4 separate regions of the Homo sapiens genome follow, and all the other regions are linked to region 1. Evidence: promoter capture Hi-C in 16 types of primary human blood cells and fetal thymus (Javierre and others, 2016). All regions are on one chromosome and are shown on one strand. The core of a region is centred on a gene start or on the middle of the fragment in contact, and the rest is flanking DNA. Distances in the headings are between cores, read along the strand shown. Region 1 holds the start of BBS12 (Bardet-Biedl syndrome 12). Region 2 holds the start of ANKRD50 (ankyrin repeat domain containing 50). Region 3 overlaps TNIP3 (TNFAIP3 interacting protein 3). Region 4 overlaps LOC105377406 (a long non-coding RNA gene).

Evidence for each region. The method cuts DNA at HindIII sites, captures the fragments that hold promoters and counts their contacts. A CHiCAGO score of 5 or more calls a contact.
Region 2: the fragment with the promoter of ANKRD50 here is called in contact with the fragment with the promoter of BBS12 in region 1 in 1 of 17 cell types (fetal thymus); the score reaches 6.7 in fetal thymus.
Region 3: a fragment that was not itself captured here is called in contact with the fragment with the promoter of BBS12 in region 1 in 1 of 17 cell types (non-activated CD4 T cells); the score reaches 6.0 in non-activated CD4 T cells.
Region 4: a fragment that was not itself captured here is called in contact with the fragment with the promoter of BBS12 in region 1 in 1 of 17 cell types (fetal thymus); the score reaches 5.7 in fetal thymus.

What each region holds. Positions count from the first base shown.
Region 1 is chr4:122,729,301-122,735,001 of GRCh38, reverse strand. BBS12 (Bardet-Biedl syndrome 12) reads right to left here and starts at 2,298. Exons shown (of 2, transcript NM_152618.3): 1 at 2,118-2,298. It also overlaps the pseudogene CETN4P. RefSeq lists an enhancer at 1,839-2,048 and a silencer at 2,409-2,628. The HindIII fragment of the contact is 1,306 bases long and covers 1,739-3,044 here.
Region 2 is chr4:124,708,281-124,713,981 of GRCh38, reverse strand. It overlaps ANKRD50 (ankyrin repeat domain containing 50), which reads left to right and starts at 1,250. Exons shown (of 5, transcript NM_020337.3): 1 at 1,250-1,524; 2 at 2,708-3,982. The coding sequence starts at 3,471. RefSeq lists enhancers at 711-1,276, 1,277-1,842 and silencers at 994-1,373, 1,524-1,763. The HindIII fragment of the contact is 8,904 bases long and covers 1-3,568 here.
Region 3 is chr4:121,150,548-121,156,248 of GRCh38, reverse strand. It overlaps TNIP3 (TNFAIP3 interacting protein 3), which reads left to right. Exons shown (of 11, transcript NM_024873.6): 5 at 1,570-1,698. Among named protein-coding and RNA genes, the nearest start is that of TNIP3, 11 kb to the left of the region's middle. RefSeq lists an enhancer at 1-295. The HindIII fragment of the contact is 4,252 bases long and covers 2,040-5,701 here.
Region 4 is chr4:124,252,345-124,258,045 of GRCh38, reverse strand. The region is part of intron 3 of LOC105377406 (a long non-coding RNA gene); the gene reads right to left. Among named protein-coding and RNA genes, the nearest start is that of LINC02516, 300 kb to the left of the region's middle. The HindIII fragment of the contact is 431 bases long and covers 2,673-3,103 here.

The DNA of each region.
Region 1 (5,701 bases), core at 1,049-3,548:
TTTCTTTCGAACTCACCCAGTAGTTGGCATAGTGCATGACATATAGAAAACATTAAATACATTTGGGAGATTTAAGAGTGCCTATGTGTTTAATGTTTTCCTGGATAATGATGATGATTAATGTTCTAAAGTGCAGTTAGATTCGTTAATAGCTAGTTTTCAAAACTAATTACATCCTATTCAAGATCTGGGAGTTGGAATCTGAGCCTACAATTAAAAAAACATTTTAACTAGCAGTAAATATTCCAAATATAAAAGCCTAAATCATAGTGATATAAAAATAGGTTAATATACTACTCCGCCATTTAATTGTCATTAGATCAAACATGATCCAAGAGATCCTCGAAATTAGGATTGGGTTGAGTATATACTTGGTCACTATTCATTTCTGGGTCTAAGAAATCCTTTTAATATTAGTATTAAAAATGAAGTATATGGCCGGGCGCAGTTGCTCACGCCTGTAATCCCAGCACTTTGAGAGGCCGAGGCGAGCGGATCATGAAGTCAGGAGATGGAGACCATCCTGGCTAATACGGTGAAACTCCGTCTCTACTAAAAATACAAAAAAATTAGCCGGGCGCGGTGGCGGGCGCCTGTACTCCCAGCTATTCGGGAGGCTGAGGCAGAAGAACGGCGAGAACCCGGGAGGTGGAGCTTGCAGTGAGCCGGGATTGAGCCACTGCACTCCAGCCTGGGCGACAGAGCAGGACTCGGTCTCAAAAAAAAAAAAGTGTATGACCTTGAAACTGATCAAGAGCAACTTTCCAAGTGAGATAAATGACGTGAAAAATCATATATTAAAGTGACCACATTTTACTTAACTCAAAAATTATCTTGGATTTGTGCCATTTTAATTTTCACTGGGTAACTTTATATGGAAAAATCACCTGCAATATGAGGATAAACTTACCTATTTTCCAGAAGCCTAATGAGATTTTTATCAATGATTACAATACTTGCGTGTCTGTCTGGGATATAATATGAACAAGACAGGCTGATGGCTTTGGAAAATGTGCCATGTTTCTACTCAATGAAGCATGAAAAGTGATTTGACAGAGTGCTTCAAGAATGCACTTTGCACTTGTTTTCCTCTCCTGCCTTCAGGAAGATAAGTGAGACAAAAAAAAAAAAAAAAAAAAAAAGACTAAAGTTAGTATTCTTCCTGAATCCATTTTTGAAGAATCCAGTATAATTTTTAGAAAATATTTCCTCTAGAGAAGACATTGTAGGAGGCATAAAAGGGGTCCGCATGTGTGAGCAATTAAAGGTTAGAAGTTTTAAGATTCTCTCATTCCTTCATTCCCACCAGGAAGTCAGTGGTCCATCCTACCTCAGTCTTTCTCCCCTGTCCTTTAAGCTGATTCCTGGCCAAATTCAGAACGGGCAGAAGCAGTAAATCTGGCCCTCTGGACAAGAGATTGAGTTGGTTTACAAAAGTTTCACAAGTATCTAAATCTAGGCCGTTACTGAATCAACTGGATAATCAGACTACCTGTGTCTGACTCTGAAGTGCAGATCAAGTTGATATCGTTGACAACTGGCCAAATCTTAGGACTGGGCCAAGGAAATGGCTGGATGTGTGTGTGTGTGTGTGTGTGTGTGTGTGTGTGTGTGTGTGTGTGTGTTGGGGTTGGAGGGCGGGGTCCGATAGTAATTATGGGTGGGGCCAAAGTCCTACCTCGTAAACAAATGCTACACGAAACATGTAAAAACGTTTATCTATGTATGTAGTGAAGCTTTAAATACATCCCAAGACCCATGCTTATCCCAATACCCACGTCCCTCCAACGACACTGTTACCCCATGCCACTGCTATACAGAATTCTGGTGTCTACCATGCCAGAATCCCTGCCCAAAACAGGGAGGAGGTAAATGGCTGAAGGCCCAGCTCCAGGCACTGTAGAAAATGAGGAAAGTCTAGCGGCAAAAAGAAAGGGCAGTCCCCTCTTCCTCTAGTACTCCTAGCCACATGCTGGACCAATTCACCCCAGGACCTCCAGGCCCTAGATTCTCATTCTTTCCCTGGCCCGAAGAGGACAGAAAAATCAAACACACGGGCTCCCACGTCTTCAGGAAAGACTTAGCTTAGCAGTCAGCGGAAGCACCTCACTACTAACCTCGCTCCTTTCTCCTCTCCTACAGGGGGCTGGAGTTCCCGGCTTCCCACCGGCCAGACGCGATTCTGGCTGGGACAGCAACACCAAAAACGCCAGGGCTAGGGAGCCCAGTTCCCCGTCCGCAGTTTGCGCATGTGCGAAGAGGGGCTTCTGGAGGAGCCGGGGGCTTAGTTGCTAAGAGACACAGCTGGAGAGAGAAGTTCCGCTTAACGCCGGGCTGCGAAAGGCGGGGACGTCACGCTATTGGTAGGGAGTAGAGAGAAAGGGCTGGTTTAAAGGCCTTTTTTTCTGTCCATTGGATGAACTGGATGTCAATAACTCAGGCTGGGTGGGCGGGGCTGAGAGAGGTCGGTGAGAGCGGCCTTAGCAACCGCCAGTGAGCTGTGAAGACTTGGGTTGGGCGGGGCTGCGGGAGGTGACGCCGGGAGGTCCCGGCTGAGAGCGCCGGCTGCCGGCTGGGGACCTGGTGAGTGTGAAGCTGTAACCTTCTGCTGGGGCCGGGGCCGAAGTTTTTCCGCCAGAGCAAGGAAGGCTGCCCCTGGCAGCAACTGCACTCCTTCCTTACTCCTGTTGAGATTCATTTTATAGTAGGAAATAGGTACTTTAATATAGTTTATCATCAATTATTCTGGTTCTGCTAACTATTCCAGTTATATAATTTATCTTTCACCCATATGTGTGTGTATTACAGGCATCTAACTACCATACAAGTTCAGACCAATGGAAGAAAAGAGCAGCAAAAATTGAACTGAATGAATCCCAAAAGCAAGAAATTAAAGACGCCTTTAATTTATTTGATATTGATGGGTCTGGAACCATCGATGTAAAAGAAGGTTCTGAAATTATTTCTAATTCTAAATCATTTTAAAAACCATATTATTTGTGGCAATCTTTAAGGCTTTCTTTAAAAGTAGTCTTCTGAAAGCTTAATATAAAGTCTCTTCAGTGCATATGCCTGCCCTGCATTAGCAAAACGATATCTTGTTAAGCATTTTAATTGTGTTTTATAAATGAGTAGGCAAAAGCCCAGGGTGTAACAGTGATGTACATGATGGCACAGTAGGACTGAAACACAGGCCTGCTGACCTAATTTTCTGTTTATGCTCAGTCCATAATAGAAAAGAGAGAAGCTCTTAATAGGGAGTTAAAAAGCTTAGAAAGAAATCATGGCATATTATAATTCCTTTTCTTCCTATTTCAGATTGCAGTGTGGGCCTTAGGATTTGAACCAAAGAAAGAAGAAATTTAAAAAATGGTAGCTGAAGTTGATAAAGAAGGAATTGGCACCATTAGTTTTGAAGATTTTTTTTTGCCATTATGAGTATAAAAATGATATAGTTATGATTTTATTTTTCAAAGAAATACTAGCAATAACCTGCTACATTTTAGGGCTGGAGCAATCAGAAGTTTTATAGAGAAGCAATTAGAACTAGGTTTTTAAGGATGGGAGATAGGAAGAGCAAGATTAAATATGTTTTCAGGGTAGTAATGAGAAGACTATGATGTGGAGAAGAGGTTTTTGTCAGGAAATAATGAGGCTATATTGCAGGATAGAGAGAATGGGGCCAGAATTTGGAAGCCTTTAATTCAGCAACATATATTGAATGCCTATTTTTGCCAGGCACTATTCTAAGGAGCATTGAAAGATACAACCTTCCATTTTGAAGCTTACATTTTTGGTAACGGATCTGAATTATGAGGTTTAATAAGAGATGCATTCTGGACCACCCTGTGCCTTCTCCACCTTAGCAAGCTCTACCTTTAAGCACCTTGAGGGCAGGTGTGAGTACATAATTGTTAAAAGACCAATAAATAAAATCAGAACACAGCTACTTGGCACATTGCTGCTTTAGACCCCAAAGATCTAATTAAGTCCAGCTTGATAAAATAAATAAATGAAAGACTGGATAGTTGCTTCTTTTTTAAAAGAGTAAAAAAGATGAAAAAGAAGAAATATTGAAGACTTTCAAATTATTTGATGATGATGATACTGGAAGTATAATACTAACCGGTATCAAGAGGTTTGCTAAGAAACCAGGGGAAAATTTAACATGATGAACTTCAGGTAGATTTTGCTTATTTTTATAATTATAATTTATATGTAATTATAACTTATGTGATAATTTAGGATTATAATTCTAACTTTAGTTGCACTTATGCATTTAAAATAAAATTTGGTTTTGAATATGTGTTTGACTTCATTTATGTCATTTTAAATGTATTTCATATATTTACATTTTGTTTTACAGGAAATGCTTGATGAAGCTGATCATGATAGAGATGGAGAAATAAACGAGGAAGATGTTTTGAGAGTGATGAAAAAGACTACTCGTTATTAATAGCGTTGTTTTAGTCCTTGTGGAAAATTAACAAATTTGTATTTGTTATGCAGTTTTATAATTTAATATCTGAATGTATTCATTTTCAGTTTTTAGTTTATATGTACACATTGGCTTCTTGATGTCTAATCCATGTAAGAAGTTACACATCTCTACCAATATGATGTTAAATCTACAGCATCAAGAAACAAAACATAATGACTTCTTTGAGCCATTAATCCAAGAACAGTATTGATTCTAGCTGCTCTTTTGAGAACCTTAGGTCACAAAGACTTAGAATTTTAAAGTTTGATGAAGTTGGCTTCACATCCAAATGAATTTGGCAAACAAAACTTATATTTTCCTTTTGTGCAACCCAAAAAAACCTGATGAACATTTGCTTTTTAGTCAGTTACTCAAATACATAAAGTATTAAATAGAACTGTCTGGAAACATTATTTGCTAATTTTCTTCTTTTAGTTATAAAGAAAATTCAAAATAGCACTTACATCACCCATATTTCCCTGTAAGTTTGACTCTATAGTGAGCACTTAATACCTCTGTGCTAGGACAGGTGGTGTAGAGTTTTATTTTTAAAAAATTTTATTTATATATTTTTTGAGACAAAATCTCCCTCTGTCACCCAGGCTGGAGTGCAGTGGTGCGATCTCGGCTCAATGCAACCTCTGCCTCCTGGGCTCAAGAGATTCTCCTGCCTCAGCCTCCCGAGTAGCTGGGACTACAGGTACCTGCCACCATGCCTAGCTAATTTTTTGCATTTTTAGTAGAGACGGAGTTTCACTGTGTTAGCCATGATGGTCTCAATCTCCTGACCTCATGATCTGCCTACCTCAGCCTCCCAAACTGCTGGGATTACAGGGGTGAGCCACCGTGCCTGGCCGAGATTTTATGTGTTAACCTCAGTAAACATATTACAAGTTGGAAGCTGATTGTATTAGCTCCATTTTACATACAAGAAAACTAAAGTTCAGAGAAGTTTTAAAAATTCCCCAGTTGCCCATTGATAAGAAATAAAACATGGATTCCAAATCTTAAGTTCTTATTCTTCATTATGCTGCTTCCCTATGGATAAAACTTTCAAGATAACTGTGTATTTTCTAACTCATTTTCAATTCTGTGACTCTTGTGATTTCTTCCTTGTGAAAGAGCCAAACTGTTGGGAAACGGAATCTCATACATACAGTCTTTTAACTCCTACTCAGTTGTTTGAGAGTGGGCCTTGGGCCTGGAACACTTCTTTTGAAG
Region 2 (5,701 bases), core at 1-2,500, 2.0 Mb before region 1:
CCCTAATTCTGGAGAATTTATACTCTGCCTCTTTTGCTTGTGTTTTAGGAAAGAAGCCCAAAATTCAGGGTACATGAATTAAAATTAAATACTAAGATCAGTAAACCTCAATTGGCACGAATAAACAATATGAAAGAGTAAGCACAAACACGATCTATTTGTTTATCCATCTTTCTTATTGTGATAGCTATACTATGAAATTTCTAAAACTAGATGGGAGACTGGCTTAATATTTTGGCAAATAACCACATGCAAGTTAATGAGGAATGGGAAATAGAGCACTCTGGATTTTAGCATAAACAATTAAAATAAAAAATGCTACATTTCCTATTCCATCAGTTGACGGTATACTTATTTTCCCGGGAGAAATTTGGAATCTAAGCAACTCAGGTCCAGTAAGTGCAAACAACTGACATGCTTAGTCCAACAGGCCCCTGTGAGCAGGCCCTCTAGGGCATTTCCTGACGCCACATGACCAAGACCTTCCCCCCTAGTGGACGCTGCGGGTGATCAAGTGGCCCTGAGGAGCAGGGGCCTGAGACCCAGTCAAGCCTGCTGTCAACCTCCATCTGATGGAGGCCACGTCCTTTTCATGAGGCTGGTAGGAATGTCGCTGTATACCCCCACTATTTCTATTTTCGCAACATTCTTCCCAGTCTTTTCCTTCCTTCTCTTCGTCCCAGCCAAAGTAAAAGCATCCCTGGAATTTAATGGACTGAAAGGAGACCGGACGACTGAGGGGTAGAACGGGGCCCGAAGTGGCTTTGGAAGCAACGGGGTTAAGGGAGAGGCAAAAGGGTTGAGCAGAGAGAGGCAAGAGGCAATCTCCCCCTACCCAACTGCCCCTCCCAGGAGCAGATACGGCACCAACAGCCGGCGAGTCCCTCCGGCCTGGAAGACAAAGGAAGGATCAGGGCCCAGTGGTGACGGGGAGGGTGGGGGCAACGACTCGCGTGAGCTCGGAGACGTGAGAACGCAGCCCCCGCCCCGTTCTCCGCCTCCCCTGAGAAAGGCGGGGCCCCCACGCCGCCCCGAGACAGGTCTCCCCGCCGCGCCGGCAGCGGGTCCCAGGCGGCCGCACACGCCCAGGCACGGGATGCTGCGGGAGAGCGCGGTGGGGGAGGGGAAGGACGCGGAGGCGGAGCCGGCGGGCAAAGAAAGGCCGAGCGGCGGGGCGGGGGCGGGGGCGGGGGCGGGGTCTGGGCTGGGCGGGCGGGGCGGAGCCGGCCGGCCGGGGGCTGCCTGAGACAGTTACTGCCCTGACGGCGGCGGCGGCGGCGGTTGGCCGGTGGGGGCTGGGGCGAGCACGACCGATTCTGCTGGGAAAGCTGGAACTGGCAGCCGCCGGGGGCCAAGAGGAGGATCCGGAGCTGGGAGCGTGCCCCGGGCCCGGCGGAGGAGGCGGCTGCAGTTGGAGTGGAGTCTTGGGAGCGCTGCTGGCAGCGACTTCTCAGCGAAGCAAGTGTCTGAGACTGAGAGTCCCTAACAGCGGCAGCGGCGGCCACGGCGGCGGCTGGGGCCGAGGTAACCGGGGGGCGGCGGCGGCGGTGGAAGCGAGGCCCCTCCCTCGGGTTGGAAGCTGGGAGGCCGAGGCCGTGGCTTGGACCTGACCCAACCACCCACCCTCTCCGGCCTCGAGCCCCAGATTTGCCCTCTTCCCTCGCACCGCCGTCGGCCGGGTGGGAGCGGGAGCGGGGCATGGGGCGGGAGCGCAGAGGCGGAAGCCGACCGGGAGGCGACCCCTCGTCTGGGATTGGCAAGGACCTCAGTCACCCCCTCCCCCTTCAAAAGACACACCCCAATCTCGGTGCGGGGCGGGGTGCAGAGGCGCTCCCAGCCTCTGGAAGGGCAGACCTCGGTGTGGAGGCTGCACCTTCGCTCGTGGCCTCTCTGAGGTGGCTCCCCTGTGGCTCCTCTGGGCGGTTCCAACCCAAGGTGGTGCCCGGCGCTGGGAATCCCGGAGTTCCTTTTGTCTGTCAGCTGAAACTGGAGGCCGGACCTGTGGGCAGACACCCACCAGCACCGAAGCACTCTACTCTTTATCCCTTTCCTGTCTTGGAAGGAATTTCTCTCTAGCAGCCTTTTCTCCGGCCAGACTGGTAGATTTTATCCCTGACCTCCATCCTTGGCCCAGAGGAAGGAAGGATTCACATTTTACTTGTGTTTGCTTTATCATTCTTATAAGAACAGTCATCCCCCATCGTTTTTGTTTTTTTTTTTTAAACCGTTTCCCATCCAGCTGCAACCCTGGTAATCTTCCCCTAGATTTTTGCACATTATCAACAAAGAAGTGTGGCTGGAGGAGTAGACAGTCCTTGACTGACTGGACTGTGTAAGTTAATAGAGCTTCCTTAGCTGGCGCTGTTCTACCAGTCTACTGTGAATGAGCGTTTTGCCTGGAGTTAAGGGTGTTACTGTATGTGCGTAAAGTTTCTCCCCCCCTCCTTTGCTATGGTGAAGTTGCAAAAATCTTGGGTAACTTGATTAAAATGTGGCTGTTTGGGAAGCATAACAATGAGGAAGAAAAATGCAGAAGGGAGAATGTGATTATTTCAGTGGTTTTTGTCCAACTTTTTGAAAGTGCCAAAGGTGAAGTACGTGGATTTTTGAGATTACGTTAACTGGTACACTGCAACCTTTATTGTCCTTAATAAGTTTTTAACATATGATATTTTGCACTGAGGTATTTTTGTTTGTTTTATTTTAGTTACTTGTGGAAATTGTTGATTACCCGGACGTCTTAAAACCAAGAAACCTGTGAACAGGTTCATTAAGAATCTGCTGTCTTGAAAAATGCATATTATGAATGCTTTGAATTAAGAAGGTGTTAACAGTGGTTGTCATTTCTGCCACATAAGAGACTATAATCTGAAACAGTTCCTGGCAGTTGCCCAGATGCCTGAAACTGGCACGATCTAGTACTCTTGAGTGATCATCCTTCAACGAGAAATACAGAGCTACTTACATACTGTACCTCATACCGTATAAATGTAATCTCTCTGATGCCATTTAATGCAGTGGACCTCTTTTCAGAATCTAATTGTCAGATGCAGAATTAACACTTGGAATCTGGAGAAGCATTTTGTACAAATTGAAAGATTGGGTTTTTTCTTTAGTTTTCCACATGTATTGTCTCATCTCTGTTCTTGAAACATCCACAATCACATAAACTCCAGTTATAACCATGGAGTTATGTGACTCATTAAAATTTAGGAAAAGTGTTGCTGAGCTGTGGAATCAGGCGTTTCTCCCTCAGTTCAACAACTAATACATAGACTGCTGATCAAGAATAAGGAACCAAATAAAGTCATGCACGTTCTGTTGACAGAGGAACTCTGTGGCTGTTGAATTTTACTGTAACTAGTTACTCTGTCTTCAGAGTCAACTTAATATACAAGTTATGTCATAATGGATGGAAAGACCTGTGTTGATGTATCCAGACTCTAGCAAATGAAGATAAAAAACCCGTTATGACTAATCCTTGGGAAGAGAAAGTCTGCAAAATGGCTCAAACCAGTTTACTGCAAGGGAAGCAGTTTTACTGTAGGGAGTGGGTTTTCCACAAGCTTCAGCATTGCCTCCAGGAGAAAAGTAACTGCTGCAATAGTGCTGTCAATGCACCATCACTTGTAATGAATTCTGGGAATAATGCTAGTGGTGTCTCTGGAAAGGGAGCTGCCTGGGGTGTGTTGTTGGTAGGAGGGCCTGGCAGTGGCAAGACGGCCCTATGTACTGAACTCTTATGGCCAAGTTCACCTGCAAGTTTGCAGAGAGGTTTACATCGCCAAGCTTTGGCCTTTCATTTCTGCAAAGCCCAGGACTCTGATACTTTGTGTGTTGGAGGGTTTATTAGAGGTCTAGTAGCCCAGATCTGCCGCAGTGGACTACTCCAAGGATATGAGGACAAGCTAAGGGATCCAGCAGTCCAAAGCCTCTTACAGCCTGGGGAGTGCGAGAGAAACCCAGCCGAAGCATTTAAAAGGTAACAATAAAAATGTCATGGTGTTCAGATTTCTATGCTGAAATTAAATTAATTTTTAGTTGTAGTTTTTTGTTTTAACTTTGTGGGTTACTTTTACTGGTGCTGTACATTTGGCCTTAATCTGAAGTTATGAGTATACCTGTTTACTTTGAATATCAAAGGAAGTAAAATTTAGGTTTTGGTATTGCACAGCATATGGATTAAAATGGATTAAAAGTGTATCTTAATTTTACTTAATAACATAATGTTACTTACATTGCCTATAAATGGTAAGGGAAATTTGTTCTTATGGTAGAGAAGCACATTTAGCTGTCTGGAAATAGGTTACATTTTCAGAGGGTGAACTGAACTTAGAGTAATTATCAGTATAGCATCTAGTATCTTTTTATTTTTTTCCTTATAGTAGTAGTATTTTTTTAAGTAAGAAAGGTTTTCTTTAAAGGAGATTATTGGCCACTGAGAATCTGAAGAAAATTTGCTGATGAGTTTTGGGATTTATTCTCCTATTAACTAACTAATTGAAAAACTGGTATTTAGAAGTATGTGAATTTATAAAATAGCGAACATTTGGGATCATCTTACTACTTTTACTTTTAGTGAGTGGTACAAAGAAAGTGTTTTTTCCTAACTTCAGCAAAGCTTTTTTTCCATGGTAAATGGATTGGTCCAGGAAGTGAGCAAGTTGCTTTCCAGAGTGGTTTCAGATTCAAATCTGTTCAAGAAAATATAATTCCTTGAAAACATTTTTTTTTGCATATCATGCCTCTGCTCATTGTAAAAGTAGCAGGCAAATTGTTAGTTTGTGCTTCACTTCTGCTTGAATTACCCATTTTGCCATAAGCTTTTTCTCTACAATAACATTCTTAGCGGGCAAAAGTTTGTTCTCCAAAGATTCTGGTATACTGTGCACTGGAGGTTTGTGTGTGTGTGTGTGTGTGGCTCTCTTCTGCTTGAGTGTGTTTCTAGGAGAGATTTGAATCACTCTAAAAAGAGTGATGTTTGTTTTTATGATATCCTCAAATCTAATGGGGTGAAATCTATACATTTTGAAAGTAATATTGAAAATATTTAATAGTAATTACAGTAAACAGTAAGTGTCAGTCATTATTCTAAGTGCTTTACAAATATTAGATCATTTAATCCTCATAATAATCCTGTGAGGTAGTTACTACTCCCATTTTATAGATGAGGAAACTAAGGTACAGAGAGGCTAAATAAATTGTTCAAGGTTACAGACTAGTAAATGGCAGGGCTGAGATTTTAAATGTGTGTGTGTGTATGTGTGTGTGTGTGTGTGTGTGTGTGTGTATGTGTTAGTAATCTTAGAAATTCTCTGGGGGACTTGATGGGAAGAGGAGGGGTTTAGAAGGTTATGTATGGCAAAGCTGGAGAACAGGAGTTGTGTCACAGTGTGGTTTGAGTGTGGTTTTCAGATTACCCATATAGTGATAGAGGGAGTGGTATTCTAGAATGAGAGTTAGGGATGGTACAGAATTCAAATATGGGAGGAATTTATTAAAGTCAGCCAAAGGGATGTATCTTTGAGAGGTGTGATATTCTTGTAGACTCTTTAATATGTAAATTTAGTCCAATAAAACTAAAGGCAAATCTATTATCTTTTGTTGTTAGCCATCAAAGTCAGCGTTAAAACTGTTGTATCATTCTTAAATTAATGAGGAAATCTGTTAGTTGATGCCTGTGGCATGTGAGATGCAAGGT
Region 3 (5,701 bases), core at 2,916-5,415, 1.6 Mb after region 1:
CTTATCACTGATATCGTGAGGCAATGGCAATATTTTAAAACATGTACAAATCTTAAGGCAATGTCTGAAATTCGCGCAGACAATGCCAGTCCAGGTTTTCCTATCTTGCTGAGGATGTCTTTGTCACAGTGAGTCAGGAAAACAGAGTTTAGCAACACTCCCTTTCTGCCATGTAGCAGTCATTTCCTTTTCCAATTACACTCTAGCCAGGAATCTGAGTAATTTTTCCCTCAATGCAGTTGGGACCATTATCTTATTGGAATAATTTTCTCTTAAATTATGCTAAATTAGAAAATAATTGGCTTATTTTCTAAGTGTATATGTTCATTCTATTTAAATAAAAGCAAATAGAAATATTTTCCCTTTTAAAGAAAATGAATTACCTAAAGCGGATTTCTTAAATTTAATAATCATATTGGGAAATATTAGTTACTCAAATAACACACTTTAACACATATATTAGCTATTTTTGCATGTCAAGTTACCTATTTTCTGCAATATTTATTTTACTGGGTTAAAATCTCAATCTCATTAAGAATCCAATTTACTTCACAAAATGTTTGCTATCTATTATACAAAATTAAGAGGTAGGAGATATTGTCTGAATCCAGAGCCTGTTGATGTTTACGCAGCTAACCTTCAGTTGTTTAAAACACTGCACTTCTGGATGACAATTTTAGATTGTCATCTAAAATTGGAGGAGTGGTGGCAGTTGGACTAGTTGATTTCTACCTTTTAAAAATAATAATCACAACAATAGAGTGCTCTAAATAATGATCTGTAATGAAAGGTCTTATTGGCCTAAGGATTATTCTCTTTTCCCTCTTTCTAATACAGAATGATGCAGGAATGAGCTTTGAGATATTTAGTATTGTTTTCTCACAATGAGAGTTTTTTCTTTTTAAGACTTTCAGCTATTTTTCTTAATCACTTATCCATCACCTAGTGACAGTATATAAGGACTTGCTTATCCTGCAGACCCATTTGTCTGATAATTGAAAGTAAGAATTGGGAATCCAGCACTTTGGGAGGCTGAGACGGGCAGATCACGAGGTCAGGAGTTTGAGACCAGCCTGGCCAACATAGTGAAACCCCATCTCTACTAAAAAATATAAAAAATTAGCCGGGCGTGGTGGCAGGCACCTATAATCCCAGCTACTAGGGAGGCTGAGGCAGGAGAATTGCTTGAACCTGGGAGGCGGAGGTTGCAGTGAGCTGAGATCACACCATTGCACTCCAGGCCGGGAGACAGTGTGAGAATTCGTCTTTAAAAAAAAAAAAAAGAATTGGGAATTTTGATTTTTTTTTTCCTGGGGTCACAAAATTTCTAAGATACTTCAGTAAATTCTGATAAAAGAAAGATTCCTTCAATCCTAATTCTAGTGTGCATCCAAAGAATATTGCTCAAATGGAACATTAAGTTTAAAGTCTTGCAGGTCCTGTTTTTATTGTATTTCAGAAGGGTGACCCCTCAATCTGCCTGCCATGGCTGATATATCAGAATTCCTACAATATCATCTCATTTGACTTGTACTGACTTTTATTTTCTTTTCTTGGTCTTAACTTCAGAAGGAAAAGGAACGCCTAAATGAAGAATTACATGAATTGAAAGAAGAGAATAAACTTTTAAAGGGAAAAAATACTCTTGCGAACAAGGAAAAGGAACATTACGAATGTGAAATAAAACGCCTCAATAAGGTATCAGTCAGGTCAAGCATGGGAGATTAAAATGAGAAGTCCCTGCATAAAACATTCTTACTGACAGTCGCAACAAAATCTAGGCTGCAGTGTGGGTCCCAGCCTTGGAGGCTTGCACAAGAAATTATCTGTGATTTTATAAATCACTCCTAGCTGCAGCTTTCAGTCATACTTGGCTAAGGAGGCTTTAGAGAATTTTTGTCCCTACAAAGATTCATCATGAGAAAGAGAAATGAGGAGGAATTACAGAGACAGTAAGAACATTTCTTAGTTTGAAGAACCACATAAAGCAAGTGGGTGTTTGCGAACAATAACGTATCTCTTGGTCAACCGCAAAAGCTTCCTCAGGAAACAAACTGCTCTTTAAAATGATCACTATGGAGTTGGGTGTGAAACACACTCTAAGGAAGCATGCTAAATGCAGAATCCAAGGCTGAGATGATAGCTCTCTCAAGTGCAAGCCTAAAACCTACTTTAAACCTACTTTAAAGTCAGAGAGAGGAAAAGTGTGCGTGTGTGCATGCAGGGGTGTGTGTGTGTGTGTGTGTGTTGTTTTATGGACTAGTTCATTCATGTTTTGGAGGAATGGGTCGCTAACTAGTTCAGGAAAAATAATCCTATACTGTTGACTTTTCCAAGAGCCAACCCATATGTGGAACATAGGAATGCGCTAGCACATGGTTGAGTTGAGATATGCCTCTCTCAACTAGATATTTCATGATAAAAGCAACAGAAATTGTCTTCTGAAACAAGAGTAGGTGATTGGACTTGAAACAGGTGCTCAAACCCTGTATTTTGGACCACATGCCCATGATTGTAGTTAACTGGTGTTCAGAGATGTTATTTAAAGATCCTCAAAGTATTAAGTATGTGCCTGCATAGTTGATAGGATGCTTTGCAAATGTGATCCTGTAGTAGATCTGTGTGTGGGACAAGTTATTCTTCAGGAGAAAATGGGAAAATGAGGATAAACTTCATAAACAATATACTTTATCCTCTAAGACAGAAAAACCATGCTCAGACATACAAATGCGGGGCAAAATCTATCTTTTCCCTTTTTTTCTTTTCCAGAAAATGTTGCACAAATGCATTAAAGGAACTATAAATAATTGAGATTATATTTAAAATCCTCCCATTTTTGATACCGTATTACAAGTTTTCTTACATTGTCTAGTTAATTTCCCTAAATGTAGACACAAAGATATAAACCTTGTAGATATTAGAACAGCCAAGAATGCTGTAGTTTTGCTCATGTCCATGTGCACTCTTCATGTTTGTGTATCCATATTTGTAGTTCACAGAAAATTGTTTCAAGTTAGAAAAATACAATTTTTCATCATTCCGGTGATTATATAATTTAATAATTCTACACGAAATTTTACATTTTAAAATTTTATGATTTTACAATTATAAAATCTCAATGAGAAAAAATAATTTGAGTAAAATCAGATCTTTATACAAATGTCACCTCTCAAAGATGACTTTTCTGGCTGTCCTAATTAAAATTACATACTATACTACTGGTATTTCCCGGTTTAATTTTTCCTTGGAATTTATTACTATCTAATGTATATATAATGTCTAACTTTTATGACTTTATTTGTTTTCTAGCTACTAATCTTGGTTGTTAGTTCCATGAAGGTAGGATTTTTGTGCCAACTCCTCCATTAGGCACCAGAGGCACAGTGGCCAGGCCTACAGTACTGTTAGGGACCCATAAGTATGTTTATGTTTAATTTCTCTTAAAATTAGAAGAAAAAATAAACTTTGGGGTTGAAAACACATTTTCATATATTATGTATCCATCTTTATAACAACACATTTGTAAAATATCATTTTAACATGTATTTTTAGGGAGGGAGGGACTCAGGCAATGTCATAATGTGGTTCTGAATTTTTTCTGTTTTGTTCACTGCTTTATCTTGAATACTTAGAACAGGACTTTGCTCAGAGTAAGTTCTTAAATATTTATTGAATGGGTGAATGGATGAATTTAATTAGCTAGTATATAATATGTTTGGTAGACAATTCTGGACCCAGAATTCATGCTTTAACAGGCATAATGCATTACTTATGGGTAGTGAGCAAAAAATAAAAGGATGCTTAAAGCCAGAAAAGACTTCATCCCACATCTATACTTTAAGCTGTCCCTTAAAAGTATAGATATAAAGTGATGAGTTATGACAGTAGATTTTTGTCTTATTTAAGATGGGTTTTGGTACCTAATGTAAGATATTATTGTTCTTCTATTTTACAATGAATATTTTTCTTTTCCTTCTTACCAATGTGATAAACAAAAGTTACTCAAAATGTTGATTTTGGTAGCTGATTTTGCACACCATCCATCACAGCATGGAATCCAGGGCCTACCCTCTATGTACAAGCTGAATGCTTGCTGACCCATTCACTCAGAAAAAATTTGTAATATGTCAGCCTTGTAATTAACATACTGTTTTTAGAAGTTCACACAATTATGTGTACTCTATTCAATTTATTTGCATTGAAGAAAATGGGGAAATATACCTAGGAGTTTGTTTTTATCAGGCTCCTGAAGCCAGATGTTTAACCAAAGTGAAAACAATTACCTAAGGCTACTCAGCTCGTGCCACCCGTGGGCAAAATTGATTTGTCTAACATCTCAGTAGATCTGTTTAGGATATCCATACTAATCGTAAATATTCTAGAATAGGTTATAGGTGTTTGTTCAAGGAAGTTGGGAAAGCCCAAAATGGAATAAATATCTATTAGACTCATCTTTCATTTATGACTCATTTACAAAATTTCTAGGATCCCAAATAGCATGAAAAGTAGATCAGAAAATTCAAATAACAAGATCTACAAAAGTAGTCTATTCCCAGGTGTAGGATAAGGAACCAGCATATTCCATTGCCATAATCCATTTGGCCCACCCCACCCTAGATTCTCTTTACTACTATTCACCAATTGAAAAAAAAAAATTGAACTATTCTGACACTTCCTAGAGCTTAACACAAATCCTCAAAAAACATAAATTATTAAACTACTTTTGTTGCTTCTTTAAATTCTCCCTGAAGGATGAAAAAAGCTCTTTTTTTCTCTTACAACTTCCTGAAAAAAAATGATATTCATATCAGGCTAGACAGTATTTGTGTATTCTAAGACATTCTATTAGGAAATTCCCAGCCTATTCACATACTCAAAACCACACATTTGCTTTTCTTTTCCTACCTTTATGACCATATTATATAGTAATGCAGTGGAGTAAGTTACCACTAATATCACCAAATAGACACTGTTGAAGTTACTAAAGAAATACAGAAGCAAATTATTCTTAGATCTCTGAAAATGAACCTTTTCTATTTGTACAGAGGACTCATTTGATAATGAGCAAGTAGTCATTTTATGGTCTCTGAGGCCACACCAGGATGAGAAGTGTTCTGTCACAATATTTGGAAGTAATTTTTATTGAACTTATCATGAACCAAAGGTCTTCAAAATAGAGGCAATGTCTTTCATATGATATTACCAAACATAATGTAATGATATGCCCATCATGAGCTAATGACTAAAGATGATAATCGTTCTGGTGAATACAGGTATTACTTCTTTCTTTCCTCTCCTCATGTCATGCTAAAAGCATCAACTTATACTGGATGTCAAGAAAGCAGGGCACTCTCTCCACTCGGTAGTGAGTTAATGAATGTTTTAACAGAAAATAAACAGGACTGTGGCTAGGCCAGGGCAGAAGAGCAACGCAACAGAGCTAACAGATAATGAATCTGCATGGGCTTTCATTTCTGTGGATGTCCCTCTCTCTTGTTGGAGGCATGCCATAGTTATATAGTAGAATGTTACTCAAAACATCACCTGGGACCAGCAGCACCAGCTTCTGAGAAATGCAAATTCTCAAACCATACCCTCCAGCCTACTGATTCATCATCTCTGGGAGTCAGTACCAAGGGATGGGCATATTTGCTGCCTCTGATTTTCCCTAAGGCTAAGCATCATTGAAAGGGTATACATT
Region 4 (5,701 bases), core at 1,639-4,138, 1.5 Mb before region 1:
CTCTATGTTCTGCATTAGCATTATCTCACAGATTTGATTATATTGCATATTAAATTCATTCCATTCAAAATATTTTCTAATTAACTGTAAAATTTTAGAGCCATGGGTAGGTAAGTCAGAAGTTAAACAGGAACAGCTGTTTAATTTTAAAATATTTGAATATTTCCAATATAGGTTTCAAAATATTTTGTTACAAAAATATGTTTAATACTATTTAAATTTATTGAGAACTTTTTATGCCCCTTCATATGGCCTGTCTAGGTAAATGTTCCAGATGCACTTGAAAAGCATGTGTACTCATCTCTTGTTAATTAAGTATTTTATATATCTCAACTAGTTCCAGGTGGTTGATAGTACTGTTTAAATCTCCTGTATCTTCACTGATTTTTCGTCTACATGCTCATCAGCTGCTGAGAGGAGAGTGTTGAAATCTCCAACCATAATTGTGGATCCTTCTATATGCCCTTTCATTTATGTCTAAATACATTTTTTCTTTCATGTATTTTGAAGCTCTGCTATTGGGTTCATGTCTTTTTAAGACTGTTGGTTTGTCTTGATGAACTGAACTTTTTATCATCATGAAATATATCTCTTTGTGTCAGGTACTTCTTATCCTGAAACCCACAGTGTCGGATATAATATAACTACTTCACCTTTGTATGTCTAGTGTATGTATGTCTCTTTTTTTTTTTAACCAGGCTTTTACTTTTAACCTATCTGAGTCTTTAAACAATATTTCAAATATGTTTCTTATAGATGGTGTATAGTTATATCTTGTATTTTTATAACCAGCTAAAAATTTCTGCCTTATAATTTCAGAATTAAGACCATTTATGCTTAATATAATTACTAATATGATTGGGATTAACCATACTATTTTGCTGCTGCTTTTTCACTTATCATATACATTATTTTTTTCTTTTTCTTTTTCTATTTTTCTGAGTACTTTCGGATTGAGTGTTTTTAGTTTTCTCTTTTATCTTCTCTATTGAGTCATTAGCTACGATGTTTTATTATCTTAGTGATTACTCTAGAATTTATAATATTAATCTTTAACTTGGTAGTCCATCTTCAAATTATGTTTTATTCTTTCATCTATAATGTGGAAACTTCCAACAGTATTCATAAATCATTTCTTTCCTTTATGCTAATGTTGTCATAAACCTTTATAGCTATATAATTTATAAAATCCACAATACATTACATTCATTTTTGCTTTATGGAGTCAATTGTTTTTTAACAATTTTAAAATAAAACCCTTGCTGTATTTATCATTTGGATATTTTTATTTCCTTTTGTAGATTAGAGTTTTTGTATGATATGCTTCTCCTTCAACCTTATATTACAGGCAGTTTTGTTACTTGTGGATCTGCTTGAGGCTAAGATTCAATGTTAGGCTTTATTAGGGCATATCTGGAACAGCCTTTACTCCAGAACTAATTTAGCATCAAATTGTAACCATTGGGGGCTGTCTGCTGAACACCCTGTGTATTTAACTAGCTTTTTCTACTCAACTCAATAATCACTCAGTCCTTTGAAAGCCATTGTAATTATTGCACTTAGAGTTTTCTGGTAGTTGTTCTTTCCCTGCTAGTTGTTTTTTTGCCTGGCTTCATGGTGTCTCATATGACAAAACGCTGCTTAGAATTTAGCCAAGGCTTCAAGGAGAAACTTACAGATTTTTTGAACTCTCTTTTCCATAATCACCTACTCTGTGTTACTCTCTCCTAGCAACACCCACCAATGCAACCTCCCTGAATGCCAGTCACTGTCTCCTCAACTCACTGAGAGTGACGTGCTCTGCTTGGTTTGCCCTCCACTACAATATGGTTATAGGTGCCCCCAGGGGGAAATATAAGGAAAACATGGCTCTCTTTTTTTCTTCCCCTTTTCTCAAGGATAACAGTCCTGCTCTTCATATTGTCCATTATCAAAATATGGTTGTTTCATATATTTTGTCCACCCGTATTTCAACATAGGCATTAGGAGGTGGGACCTTTGAGGGGTCATGAGTGTAGAACCTTCATGAATGGGATTAATGCCCTTATAAGAGAGACCCCAATGAGCCTCTCACCCTTTTTCTACGATATGAGGACACTACAAGAAGTGGGTACTCTGCAGCCCAGAAGATCACCCTCACCAGAACTTGACCATGCTGGCACCTGATCATGGCACTTCCACCCTCCAGAACTCTGAGAAATAAATTTCATTGTTTATGAGCCATCCAGTCTATGGTAATTTGTTATAGCAGCTGGAACTGATGAAGACAGGATTATCCAAAATATCTGTTCTATACATGGACATTTAAACTTGATAAACACAATTGTGAGCTTCTTTTTCATTGATTAAAATAATAAAGTTTTTTTATTTAAAAAGTTACGTTGATGCTAAGATGAATGGAAAGTTATAAGCTTTCATAATCAATAATGAACTAATCTGGTGCTTTCATCTAGCAATTGAGATTGTACTACATGTAGAACCTTCATATTTAAAAGTAGTTTTAACTGCTTCAATTAGTTCAGGCTACAGATATTCTGAGGCAAATAAAAAACCTTGGATATTGCATCAAGATATAGGATATCATCAGTATATGCCTTTGCTTTTTGCATGTATATAATATCTTAGGCTATTGTAGGAATATCAGGTAAAAAAACTTGGGAAAAATTAAAGCTTATAATAATCTGAAAAGACTTATCTGGATTCTTATAAACTGTTTCCCACTTTTTCTGTCTTTTGTCTGTGGAGCCTCTGAGATCAGAGCCCCTTCTTTGGTTGCTTCTTGAATTATACATAGTGTAGGTATACTGATGTCCAGATCAGCTATAATATGAAACTTCTAAAAATAACTCCTGTGCAGTAAATTTTATCTGGTAATTCTATTTGAAAAGTAGACTCCTACCTATTTATTACATTTGCAGGGTTTGTGTAAGGGAAAAAATTGTGTTGTTCTCATAATAGCAATCTCAAAGTAATAATTGTATGTTGGCAGAAAAGGATTTAGAATTGTAAAAATTTTCAGTATTTGAATGGTTTATGTAAACCAAGGCAAAGAATGTTTACTTCTCCTGAAGGGTTTTACCTGTTACTCTACACATTCAAAGCTTTCTTTTACTATCTTCTGGGCCAAGCATACATTTTTACTTTAAGCAAAACTATATTTTGTTCCATTTTATTATTACTACACCATTACTATTACGGTTGTTTATGAGCCATCCAAAGTCAATTTGCTTAATTTCATGAGTTTTAGATAATTTGAAAGTTTAGTTTTGAGGACTCTAATGTTCTGTGGTAGTTGGATTAATAAAATATTTAACACCCATATTAATGAGAAAGATGTATTAATGTCCATCTCAATTTACAGATATTTCCCCTTGGGAGTTTAGAAGAAAACAGAATTGTGGAACACTAGTCTCTCCCTTGGAGTGAAATCATAGGGCAGCGTTTGGATAGTCACCCACCACTTCTTAGCAAGTGTGGAACGTTCTTTCTTCTAACAGTACTTCTTTTGTCATTTCTACTTGTGTCTCTTCCTAGGTTCTCAATTCTAAGGATCAGAGAATCTTTTGGTTTTATTTTTGTTTTGGGAGCTGGTGGTTCTATCTAGCTGGTAGCCATAATTGATTTTAATTTTTAGCTTGTTTACTTTACCTGTGGCTCATTGAAAATGTCAGCAAATGCTGGAGTGCATCTAGCAGTTTCCTACTATAATTTTAGATGTAAACCTTGTTATTAAAAAAAAAAGAAAACAGAAAAAAAACCCTCCATTTACTTTGTTTCTTCTATCTACTTCAGAATATTATCTGAAAATGTATCATCTAATTGTAAAATCTCCTCTGATTCAGCTCTATTTTGTTTATAACTTTGGATCTTTGTCCAATTTACTTTAAGGGAGAGAATTCTGAAATGGCCTTATATATGAAATATATTTTAAATATTTTTTTTTTGCTCTTTCAAGAATATTTTTAAAATCATGCACAGCTGTGTTACTAAAATTTCTTCCTAGTGTTTTTCATCTTATTAATTCTTATTATATTTCCTTATCTGAGAGGATGACTGTTAACTTGCTGATACATAGCTGGTGGCACCTAAAGCAATTCTGATTTTTTTTTTTCAGAAAATTTCTGCCTAAATTCCTGAGGTTCAAAAGGAAAACTTAATTTATGAACTCCAAATTGGTTCTAGATCAAAGTTTATATTCAGCTTCTATAGATGAGCCTTCTGGTCTTATAATTTCAAGGGCATATTGTGCAATGCAATTGTTCTTTTTCTGAGAAAAAAATGCTGAGGAAAAGATAGCACATGTGAACAGTTAGAATAAGAAGCAAAAGGATGTAAGCATAGAGAAGAAATTCAAGGAAAGTATATTTCAGAAGATTTGAGCAGGAATGAACTAGAGAGTTTTTTAAACAAGCTATTCTGGAGTCAATGTTTGGTTTTGTGGCTTTGGATATTAATTAAAATACTGATAATTGCATATTTAATATTATTAATTTTTTCTTTTTCTGAATTTCTTAAAAATGTAATTATGAAATATTAAAATTATTCAAAATGATAAATTAAAAATTTTTTAAAACATTCACCAAAGAAGACACAACAGCTGTGAATATAATACAAATTTATGAAAGATTCACAGATTTTGCCAGGAAGATGTTGCAGTTTTGATTTGGACAAACCCATAATAAACAAAAAAGAACCTCTAAAATCTGTTACATCTGTGTTTTTATAAATGATGTTCTGCATTACCCAACCCAAGCCAAGGCCAGGAAGAGGTGGTGCAACAATGACCCAATAATCACTGGCCTGGAAATGTGAAGTAGAGTGACCTTGTACACAAATTGACATGACAGCAAGTCTCTTCATGATTTTGGAGGTGAGCCAAGACACAATTTGATCAAACATCTCAGTATAAATTACCTGTAGCATAATGGGGCTGCAACAGTGATACTTTTAGGCTGGTTTGGACTACATTGGAGGTTTATCCAACTGATACCTCCATCCATTTTCTAGGAACCACTCCCTGACTCAAGTCACCAGAAACAAGACAATCCATATAAAGCCATGACACAAATCTTTCTCACTAAGAGAAAGACAAAAATAAAAAGCAAGCCAAGTCGCTGAAGTCAGCATGTTAGTGGCAAAAATATTTAACAAATAGTGCACCACCAAACCAAAGCATCTAATATACTAATACTACTTAGCAACAAATTATAACAACATAAATTTTGTAATAAGAGCTCAATGAAATAAGTTAGAGTTGAGATCATGTTGAACCAGTTGCACCTGGCAGGAAATCTGAAGGACAAAGGAAACTGGCGTACAAAAGGGCTGGGTAGATTTATTGGTCAAAGATACTATATTACCCTGTTGGAGAAAACTACATTGTTAAAAAAAAAAAAAGAGAGACCTCTATTCAAAACTCAAATCAATAAGCTTGATTTATTGCTGATGGAAGTGAAAAAAAAAAAAAGAGCTACGTTGATCAGATGAAGCCTCACTGAGCATTGCAAACTACTAATTTTACATAGGGTGCTGGGGAAGAGCTTGAGATTGATTCAGGTTGTGTTTATATGGGAGCAAGAATGGATTGATATCAGCTGTAGAATCATATTTTGTGTTAATTGTAGAGGCAGGGTGGGTTGTCAATCTTAGAAGCCTAGTTTATTATTTTTCAAAATAGTTGTTCCATGTCAGCCTTAGAAAC